Regions from separate parts of the Homo sapiens genome. Here regions 1, 2 and 3 are each linked to region 4. Evidence: promoter capture Hi-C in 16 types of primary human blood cells and fetal thymus (Javierre and others, 2016). All regions are on one chromosome and are shown on one strand. Each heading gives the region's core, a stretch centred on a gene start or on the middle of the fragment in contact. The rest is flanking DNA. Distances are from core to core; before and after follow the strand shown.

Evidence for each region. The method cuts DNA at HindIII sites, captures the fragments that hold promoters and counts their contacts. A CHiCAGO score of 5 or more calls a contact.
Region 1: a contact is called between a fragment that was not itself captured here and the fragment with the promoter of SLC67A2 in region 4, in 2 of 17 cell types (M2 macrophages and M0 macrophages). The highest score is 8.0, in M2 macrophages.
Region 2: a fragment that was not itself captured here is called in contact with the fragment with the promoter of SLC67A2 in region 4 in 2 of 17 cell types (M2 macrophages and M0 macrophages); the score reaches 6.1 in M2 macrophages.
Region 3: a fragment that was not itself captured here is called in contact with the fragment with the promoter of SLC67A2 in region 4 in 1 of 17 cell types (total B cells); the score reaches 7.2 in total B cells.

The regions. Positions count from the first base shown.
Region 1 is chr2:104,764,919-104,767,618 of GRCh38, reverse strand. No RefSeq gene overlaps it. Among named protein-coding and RNA genes, the nearest start is that of LINC01114, 8.6 kb to the right of the region's middle. The HindIII fragment of the contact is 3,791 bases long and covers 1-2,700 here.
Region 2 is chr2:104,786,848-104,789,547 of GRCh38, reverse strand. No RefSeq gene overlaps it. Among named protein-coding and RNA genes, the nearest start is that of LINC01114, 30 kb to the right of the region's middle. The HindIII fragment of the contact is 4,017 bases long and covers 1-2,700 here.
Region 3 is chr2:104,966,380-104,969,079 of GRCh38, reverse strand. The region is part of intron 1 of MRPS9-AS2 (MRPS9 antisense RNA 2); the gene reads left to right. Among named protein-coding and RNA genes, the nearest start is that of DALIR, 60 kb to the right of the region's middle. The HindIII fragment of the contact is 6,733 bases long and covers 1-2,700 here.
Region 4 is chr2:102,735,575-102,738,417 of GRCh38, reverse strand. SLC67A2 (solute carrier family 67 member 2) reads left to right here and starts at 1,530. Exons shown (of 6, transcript NM_032718.5): 1 at 1,530-1,772. The coding sequence starts at 1,608. It also overlaps a transcript of TMEM182 not described here. RefSeq lists a silencer at 1,414-1,623. The HindIII fragment of the contact is 937 bases long and covers 1,184-2,120 here.

The DNA of each region.
Region 1 (2,700 bases), core at 19-2,518, 2.0 Mb before region 4:
AACTCTTTCAAGAATCCTAGTTTGGTTGGTCTGACTCCCAAGGGCTATTTGTGATTAGATGATTCCTCCTAAGGGTGATAGGTTCTGTTGAATTTCACATTAGGTCCAAGTTCCTCATGGCCCTAGTGTATACTGTAGTATAGCCACGGGGATCACAGCCAAGGACTAGATGGTGAAAGGGCAAACTAAAATATACAGGTGTGTTCCAAAAAAGGAAGAAAAAGTGCCCATATAAAAATAATTATGCTATATATTTTATATAATATAATGACATTTATACTATAAGCTAAATTTTCAAAGTTACACCAACAACAAATAACACAAGTATACAGAATCCCATCGTTCCTGAAAATCTTGGGGCTGTGTAATTTAGAAACAGAAATGAGCGTGTCTGGGCCTATACAAAGAACCCCAGAAGCACTCTTCATGTTCTTGCCCAATGTTGTTCAAACAGCACTATTTCAGGATACCCGTTGACTTGGGAAGTGAGGGTGATCAGCTCCCTGCTGCCTCAGGCACTCTCCCTCCACATAGTCCCCGGGCATCCCCAGCTTGGAGCACAATATCAACCTGAGGGGAAGAAAGCTGGGTCGCTCATGGGTCCGTGAACCCAACTGAGAACTGGTTAACTGGTTAGCAGGCAGGGCTGTTGAGTGACGTGCAGGCCGCTCCCTCTCTCTTCCCAAGCAGCTGGGCTTCCGGAATGCAGATGCCCGGCTGCCTTCCTGCCAGACAGTGGAGAGTTGGGTTAGAAGGGGGAACATCTGGGGAGATTTCCGGTAGCAATCTCCGGAGGCTGAGCTAGATAATCAGGCTTCATAAATTGGGTTGACTAGACAGTAAAATATTTATTATGATTCCTCTTTTTTTTTTTTTTTGAAGTTCAAAAATCCTTGTCATCCCCGGCTGAAGCCTGTGTCCACATGAGAGGAATTCATAATGAAATCAGAAGTAGCCTGCCACCACTTACTCACGACCTCCACCTGCAGCAGGGAGGCAGTGATTGGATCTGCATATGTGCTCCATTTAATTGTTTTTTCCTAATAAAACAGAAAAATCCATGAAACAACAACAATGAGCAATCCAAAAAAAAAAAAAAAAAAAAGAACAGCCCATGTGATGGTCTTTTATTCATTCTTGATGTATCAAATATTTTCTTACATGGGTGAAAAACAGAGGCAAATAATTTGGATGTTGTTTAAAAATAGACTTTCATATAAATAATGTTGAGTCTTAAAGATACCTATTATTATTATTTTAACCTTGAATCTCTACTAAAAACAAATGGTGAGTTGTGGAATTATTCAGATAATTGAGACCAAAATGCTGGTTTCTCTTTAAATATTTAGATAATGGAACAAAAACAGCTACAGCTGATGTGTATGATTAGTGACCATGATTAGTGACCAAGTGCTTTCTTTGGGAAAGTGGATGATGTCTTGGCTGTACCCTCAAACTAAGTCCTATGTCAGTGGAGAGCATTAGAGGTTTATTATAAAAGAGGGATTCAGATTTCTGTCAAAGGTGGACAGTTTTTTTTTTTTTTTTTTTTTGAGACAGAGTCTTGCTCTGTCACTCAGGCTGGAATGCAATGGCATAATCACAACTCACTGCAGTGTCCACTTTCTGGGCTCAATTGATCCTCCGGCCTCAGCCTCCTGAATAGCTGGGACTACAGGTGTGTGCCCTGTGCCACCATGACTGGTTAATTTTCTTGCTTTTTTTTTTTTTTTTTTTTTTTTTTTGTAGAGGTGGGAATGGTCTCACTATGTTGTTCAGGCTGGTCTCGAACTCCTGGGCTCGAGTGATCCTCCCGCCTTGGCCTCCGAAAGTGTTGGGATTACAGACATGAGTCACTGTGCCCAGACTCTTTTTTCTTAAATGCTCGCACTAGTTAATAATTTGGCATTTAAATGTTTCAGTCAATTGGTAATCAACACCGATTACAGAGAACAGCTTCTCCACCTGGGTATAAGATGACTGCTGCTTCAGGCCTCACTGCCCATCTAGCCCCAGATCCTGCCATTCCCCACAGCATCCTATGCTCCAGTGAAACTTCCTCAGCATTCCCAATCTCATCCAGATGGCCCACTCCTCCATGATTCTTCACACCTGCTGTGTGCTTCCAGACTTTGTTCTTTGGGAAACCTCCTGCACATCCCCTCATGGGGCTCCCTGCTCCCAGCCTCATCAACTCCTCGATACCTTTCCCATCAACCCGCCTTCCACCACAGTCTATGCTGAGAAAGGTATCTGCCTTTTGAGCTTCCATTTTATCCTATTTACATATCTAAAATATCACTTTTTTTTTTTTCCAACAGCCACAGATATTTACTGAGTGCCTCTTCTTTGGTAGGTCCTGCTCACACAGACACAGTTCCTGCCCTCCTGAGGCTGACATTCCAGGTGAGGAGAAAGATGATAGACGTGCATGGGAAATGATGCCAGGAAGTGCCATGACAAAGATACAACAGAGGTTTTTCTTGTTTGACTTTCGCCGTAGACTATGAACTCTTTGAAAGCAGAGACGGTAAATCTAGCATAGAGTGGAGTGTTAGCATATACTACATGTCAGTCAATGTTGAATGAATGAGCAAATGAAAGGCATATTTAGTGGACTTCTCATGATGTTTCCAATCCTTCCAATAATGGAAGAAATAAAAGAAATAAATAATAATTTTACTTATTATGGTTGGAAAG
Region 2 (2,700 bases), core at 74-2,573, 2.1 Mb before region 4:
GTTTAAAAGGCAATTTCTTTTTAAGGGGCAAATTCCTAATTTCCCACATAAAAGTATGGGAATTGAATGGTAAATCCTTCTCTGCTGACAAGACCCCTGAAAAGAGGCATGAAAAAGAGTTACTGTTCCGTTTCCATTCATGTCTCTTGAAAGCCGGTGGATGTGACACTGCGCTGGAACACACAACCCTGGGTTTCAAAGCTGCCCGGATGACTTTTCAGAAATGATCTATTGTGGCGCTTTGTTTTGTCCGGGTCGCCCTCGTTTTGTTCTGCTCGGCTGTATCACTCTTCTGTTGCTGCCATTAATCCACTCTGTCTACTCCTCCCCATTCAGAGGCACATTTTACCCCTCGCCCTGCACAGAGAGCCCAGGGATGAAATGGCTGAACGACTCAGCATCACTGCCGAGAGAGGGACGGAGGGAGAGAGATGGAGAGGAAAGGGGGTGAGAGGGGGTGTGCTGGTTCCACAGGCTCACCTGGGTGGTGAGGGTGCTCAGGAAGAAAAGGAGAGTAGGAAGAGGGAGGGGGACAGGCATCTAAGATAGACTTTCTCCATCTGTTGGGAGCCTGGGCAAGTAGGAAAGAAGCCTTTTTCATACACTTTAGTTGTATGGCTGAGCTGCTTGGCAGGGCACTGGAAACGGCGAACTTGTGCAGCCTGCAAATGAGACCACTCTTATTTTTCAGTTTTGATTTGATTCACTCACTTGTAGTTAGGTAAATACGGGCTCTATGTGGCTCAAGGAATGTCAGGCTGGGGTAGGTGGCAAAAGATACAGTGATGATGAAAAAAAGAAAATTAAATTAGAAGTCTTTTGGTTAGTAACTCAAATTTAGTTCACTTTCTTCTGTCCTCTTGGAAATACCATTCTCTTCAGTTGTATTCTACATAGGGAAGTGTTTTTTTTCCCACCTACCTTCTGTCCTACCCATTGCCTACTTTTAATGGTGCAAAGGGATGGTCTAGAGGTCCCAAAGGATCCTGTGATGTGCCAGGTTGTAAAGTGGTAACAAACATTCCCCAAATATCAGTGGCTTCATATACCAAAGTCTGTCACTCTCACTCTATGTCCAGTAAGGGGCAGCAGGGGCCCTGCTCATCAGTGTCGTGCAGGAGCCCCTTGGAGCAAGGGAGGACCACTCTCTACATATGCATAGAGATCTCCAAGGACTGAAGAGGGGGCCTCTTGAGGCTCTCACACTGGTCATCAAATCGCTGGCTCTGGAGATACTTCCTCTTACAACTAATCCAATGACTACACCTGCACGCAGGCTCAGCCTCTGATGACCAGGAGAAAGAAGACAACCAGCCAGCCACCAGTCCGGATGCTGCACACCTTCTCAGGGATACCCAGGGAGTTAAATAAGAAACAGACGAGCAAAATATTTTCAAGACTTTAACTGAATAATAAAAATCAGTCGTACTTAGTTGGCTGGAGTTTTATTGCAATACAAATCTAAGATGAGCATTTCAGATAAAAGTTGGACCAAGGTTCAGGAATTAAACATTTTGAACACGACATGATCAGCCCCAGCCTCCACTCTCAAGTGAGCTGCATGGTTCAGGCAAATTACCTAAACTTTTGGGCATCCATTTAATCACCCAGATAGTGAATCTGTGGGCTTCAGAGTTACTGGGAGCACTTTTTAAAGCATCACTGTGGGACCTCATCTGCAGAACTGCTGATTCAGCAGGCCTGGGGTGGGGCCAGGGAATTTGCCTTTCTACCCACTGCCCAAGTACTGCCGAGGCTGCTGGTCCAGGGATCACACCTTGAAATGATTCCTGGATGAACTCTAGAGCTCGATCTAGCTAGAAAACCCAATCTTTCCTATAGGGGGATGAGGTAGAATTTGTTGATAAGTTAACAAATAGCTACAGTAAAGTTTTCATATAGCTATAGTAAAGTTCAAAAAGCTACAGTAAAGTTGAAACTCGACTGGAAAATAATTCACTGGAGTGTCACTAACCCTTAACATTTTTGTGAGAGCACATTCGCATGTTGGAGTGACACATATAGTTTAAAGACACGTCTCAATTACATGATGTGGTCTGGACAGCTGCCCTTGTGGGGACAGAGGCTGCCACTAAACTCTGAGCAATTACTTAAAATTAGACTTGTCAAATTTGTTTAGGGTGACCAGGCAAGTACATACATTGACCTAATGTCACTCTTCCTGGAGAGACGTTGTAATGATTTTGTATATCAGTCAAACTATTTAAAACTAATGCCGCCTTCATGCCATAATCACCATTCTAGTCAGATGTCATTTTTAGAAGCCCTTGGGGATTTGCCTCTCTTAATTATTCTTCAATACCCAAACCAAGCATTCTTTAATTGGTGTAAATTGAACAGTGTTCCAGTGCAAACAAGGAGAGGGCACATTGATCAATGATTCTGTGCATGTCTATTGGAAAGTCGTTGCCATTAGATCAAGTAACAAATCCTTAACCCCTTTGGCTTCAGTGGAAACATCAGGTTGTGGGGCTGAGAAATGCTACTTCTCCTTAAGTCATCATCATTGGGAAACAGTGGGTTGTGATTGCAAAATCTCAGCTTTTGAGGAAAAGGTTAAAATATCCATCATAAAAATACCCTCCGTTCCAATGTCAAAAACCTCATTCAGAAGCCTTTTATGAGAGTTCAAGTAGAAACAAAGTGTTTCTATCCTCTGGCAATTTGGCTCCTTTCTCT
Region 3 (2,700 bases), core at 84-2,583, 2.2 Mb before region 4:
TGCTTTGGGAGTCTTGATTCATCCTAGGATTCACCCATTCCTACACTCGTTACCTTCTCTAAGTCACCCCAGTGCCAGGGTTTTGGAAAGTAAGGCCATTTCCTTAAGTGTCCCAGGATCACCATATTGGTTTAAAGTAAAATCCACACCAATGATAGAGCCACTTCCTCATCCTAGCTGGGTTTCCCCGACCCTGTCTATGTAACCCTGTTAGCCCTGTTTGCCTCTGTCTCCCTGCATCACACATAAGGCTTTTCTTCTCTCTTGATGTATCTTGGGTGCTGTGCCTTGCATAGTCTTTGGTTTGATTTTTTTTCTAGAGACTCCAAGTGTCTATTTTAATGTTTCACCTGTTTCTCAACCCTGCAGGTTGACATTCTCTGGAGCCGAGATCTGGTTCCCGCTCCCACCTTTCTTTTCCATTTTCTACATTTACATCTACTGCCCTTTTCTGATTTATCTCTTTCTCTTGATTTGAGCTGTGTCTCTACTATTCCCCTCCCCAGACAAGGAGATGAATTTTAATATTTTCTGCTAGGTAGTAATTTCTAGCACTCCCCATATCCAGCCTGGCTCTTAACAGTGAGACCTCTCAGTAGCATTTTAGAGGTTTAAGAATTATCTTAAAGACTTTCTGATTCATTCTCTTACATTTTTCAAAATATGCAATTTTCTATTCAAATCTAAGATGAGGAGCTGTTTCGTCAAATACGTAAGATTGCATGCGTACAGGATATTGCTGGGATTTAAATGTAGTTTTTAGGATGCATCACATTATTTTGTGTGTCAAAAAATATTCCTCAAATAAGAAAGACACTGTACATTTTAAAAATGCTTTTGACAGTGTCTTACAATCCATGTATGGGGACTTACAATTTTGGGAAGTCATGTAAACTTTCCTGAGTTGCGAGTGAATTCAGTGCTTCCTCCACTCATAAATGTTATTACCCTACAAAGAAATTTCTAGATTATCCCACATAAAAGAGAAAACCAAACTCAGGAAAGACCATAAGATTATGAACTGGTACCTTTTCCCAGCACAGAAATCAGAACTGATAGCTTTAAATTAGAAGTGATATATAGCTCGTTCTTAGAGAGCTCTCTGTGCAAAATTTCATCATTTTGTGCAATGCTTTATACAGAGTACACACACAAGAAGGATTGACTGACAGTAAATGTTTACCAGTTCAAATTTTACTGAACACCTCTAATATCAGTATCTATCCTGGTAGTTTTTAAAATAATGCTATATTCATCACCATTACCACCATTATCATTCTTGATTTTTTGTACTGATTAGAATGTTTTCCATTGCAACAGAAACCCCAACTCAAACTAGCTAGCAGCAATGAATATTTTCTCTCTCATAACAGGAGATTCCTTAAAATGAGGGGCTTTAGAGTTAGTTGATTCATCAGATTACTAGTGTCGTTGAGTATCTCCTTGGTGTAGTAGCAAGGTTGGTAGTAACATTTCCAGATATGGCATTATTCAGAGAAAACAAAAGTTATTTGTCTCTTTCTATGGCTTTGTTTAGCAAGAAAAGACCTTTTCCCAGGAGCTTCTCAGGAGCATCCCCTCATGACTCAGCCATGAGGGTAGGGTCACAAGCCCATTCTCAGATCAGTTACTAGCATGATTGATTTCTGTGCACCCTCTGAAGCGGCATGCATCTTGGGGGATCAACTATGGTGTCTACCATACATTTATATAGTGACTTCAGCTTACCAAATGCTTTATGCATCCATCCAAGGTATAAGGTAAGGTAAGGCAGGTGTTATCATCCCCATTTTATATGAGATGATGGACGCTTATAGAATATTACCTTGTTCTTATGAAATGTGCTTCTGCAAGGAATGGTAGAGTAGCATGTTGCCATTTAAAAATCCCAAATAAAACAATCAATGGAGCCAGTGATTATTAATGTCTGCTAAACTATCAGATGAGTAGCCGATGGGAAACATTATAATGAACAGATCTGTCTGACAATGCCTAGACCTATTAATCAAACTTAACATCACAAAAAAGAGGGGTAGTCAGATAGTTCAATCTCCTGATGTGACATAATAGGTAGTACATAAACCTGAATCTCATCAAGCCTCTAAATCTAACAGTTTATAGAAAATACAGGGGACAGAGGAACACATTAAAAGACATCATAGGAGTGCAATAAAAATCCAGAATGTGAGAAATTTTACATAATAATCTATTTGATTTCTTCAGTAGATACATTATAAGAAAAAAAGAGAGGCAGGAGGAACCAAAAGATCAAGAGTCTTAAAGGACATATCATCTAGGTGCAATTAAGACCTTGTTTAGAGTGTGATTTGAATAAACTAAGTTTTAATAAACAATCGTGGAAAAAGTGGAAAATTTTCATGGTAGTTGGAAATTTGATAGTTATATTAAGGACTTTTTGTTAATTCTGTTGCATATACCAATAATAATTTTCTTTTAGGGATATATTCTGAAATGTTTATGGATGAAATTATACAATGTCTGGGATTTGCTTTCAAATAATTCAGGTCAAAAGAGTGGCATGAATAATATGGCAGAATGTGAAGTCCCAGGCCCTCCTTCCTCTACAGAGACACTGACACAACAACACACACACCAGCTGCCTTTGTGAAAAATCCAGAAACAAGTTAAGAGGCTCCTGAACTCCAGGAAAACATGAAGCCAACTGAATCAAAGCCAGGC
Region 4 (2,843 bases), core at 281-2,780:
TTTCACCATGTTGGCCAGGATAGTCTCGATCTCTTGACCTTGTGATCTGCCCACCCTGGCTTCCCAAAGTCCTGGGATTACAGGTGTGAGCCACCGCGCCTGGCCGTGACTTCCAATTCTTTTGGCGTGTATGAGATGTCCTCCTAGGTTATAATGTGTACCTGTCACCAGAGCATGCTAAAATTTCACCCTAGCTATGTATTTAGTAGCCACAGTGAGTGGTTTTAATGGGTTAACATGAGCAGCCCTTTCAAGGCGCCTTTCCCAGATGAGTTACTCACAAAATTTCAAGCACAAAAAGACTAGTTTCCTCAGCTATAGGAGAGCAAACTAGTTCTCCTGCAAAGGAGTCTCAGAATAACTTGGGGGTTCACGATTGACAGTTTCACCTGGATTCAATTATATGTCTTAATTCTAAGTATCAGTATTCCACTTCTCCCTATTCAGTGCCACCTCCCATGAGAAACTTTGCAACACTGAATTTAACAGATCTCAGAATTAGCAACCTACACAAGTAAATTGAGATTTTGAGCAAAATCTCAGTAAAATGTCAGAGTCTTCTTGATCCCACAGTGAAAGAGGAATAAATAACAAGTTCTAAAGAAAAGAGGGGCTAGTCACTATTGTTAACATTTATTACTTACCATGTGTCATGGGCTTTGCTAAGTAATTTAAAGGCATCTTTTGGTGTCATGCACTCACTTAATTCCTTTCACTGCACTCAGAATAAACCCCAAATCTCTGTTATGGCCTTCTGGGTCCTAAATGGTCTGCACTCCTGCTGACCTCTCAGTTTGATGAGGAAGTTTCAGCCACACATATCTTCTTTCCACTCTTCTCAGCTTACATGTCACCTCCTCCAAACTGCTTTTCTAAAGTAGCTCACTCCCCACCTCATTACTTTCCACATCAAGACCGTGCTTCTTTATATTATCACCATATTATTTTACTTATTTTATGCTTTTTCATTGCATGTTTAGTATTTTTATTTATGTTTATTTACTGCGTGCTTATTATTTTTACTCCATGAGACTGTAATCTCAACTCAGGCATAGACCATCTATGGTTTGTTCACATTGCACTGCACCAGAAAGGATCTTAAGAAGCATGTGTAGAATTCTCACACCTCTAGAAGTTGGACTACATTATTTCCTACTGCTTTTTAAATAGGCAAACGAAAGCTTGGAGAGCCACGTTAACGTATCCTAGGTCTGTCACAACCAACTGGTGGCCAGGGTCTGTGGATCTTCAAGCTGGAGTTGGTCACCTCCTAGCACAACTCCATAGGAGGAAGTGAAGCTCAATACAATTCCCTCCTGTCCTCCAACGATAGGGGCAGCAGGGTCTGTACCCAGAGGAAACAAAGAGCATCATCATTATCATCACAAACTGGTGTGTGCTTACCGTATTGATGATGTGCCCAGTCCCCACCTTGCCTGAGACCAGAACTCCCAGCCAGCACCGGCCACGCACCCGCGGAGCTGCCAGGTAGCACCCGCCCCCTCTCTCTGCGCAGGCGCGCGCCTCCTGCTTCCGCTCGGGGCGGGGCTGGGCTCCCGGGGTAGGTCCGCGGCTGCTGCTGCGTCCGACCCCCGGCCGGCGCGGGTATGGAGCTTGGGGGTCACTGGGACATGAACTCGGCCCCGAGGCTGGTCTCGGAGACCGCAGAGCGGAAACAGGAGCAGAAGACAGGAACCGAGGCGGAGGCTGCCGACTCCGGTGCCGTCGGAGCCCGCCGCTTCCTGCTCTGTCTCTACTTGGTGGGCTTCTTGGTGAGTGCGAGCGTGGGGGCTGGGAGCAAGTGCTGACTGTGTTCGGGCCTGGGGACCCAGGCGGTTCTTGGAGCTTCCGGGGAGCTCCCAGGGAGTGGGAACCCGCAGTCCGCCTGGTGAGTGCCTCACTACCTATCAAGCTCTCCTCTTGCCCTATCACCCACTTCAGTCTGCATCTGGCCACACTGCTTTATTGCCCCTCGCGCTTTCTCTTGCACCCCGTTCGCGGAACGTCTTCCCTTCCCTGCCTTTTGAGAAGCCCTGGTACCAACCTCAGGTGTGACCAGGTGTTAAATGCTGTGGCAGGTGCAGCTTTTGCAGGGCGGAGAACAGGGGTGTGGGCAAGCTTGGAAAAGCCCAGCTGCTGTGCGGCTGCTGGTGAGGTAGGGACACGCAAGCCTTTTTACCAGAACAGGCAGGGGAGGCCGCTCTTGACCCCGCTTGGACAGATTTAGGCACATTTTCACTAGGATTCTTGGTTGACTTAAATATTAAAAAATGCAGATCAGAGTGAATTTTACCCATCTGCCTTTCGACAAACTGCGCATTGCACAGCGTAGGTTTGGTTTCATCATGATGTGTGTGCCTGTGGTTTGCTTTTTTACCAGACCAGGCTGGAGAAGCCGCTGTTGATGACCCCACTTGTACAGAATTGGGTGCATTTTCACTAGAGCTCTCGGTTGACTTGAATGTTTAAAAATGCAGATCAGAGTGAATTGTACCCATCTACCTTTGGACAAAGGGTGTGCATTGCACAATGGCGGTTTGGTTTCATCGTGTGTGTGTGTGTGTGTGTGTGCGCGCGCGCGTGTCCTGGTTTGCTCCCTGAGTGCTAATTTCCCACGTAGAATGGAAAGTTTAGTAAGCTGATTCATGGCATTTCTGAACACCTGCCATGTGGCAGGTGCTGCGGAGCTTCACTATTGTAATCCACAGTTCTGCCACAGAAGAATTCAGTCTTACAAGTAAGCTGATGTTGGTAGTTTCTGGGCCATTATCTGCAAGAACCCTAGATCCACCTCTGCACTCCTCCCTTTCCAAGGCTAGGCCTGATTCAGCCCTGAGTGTGAG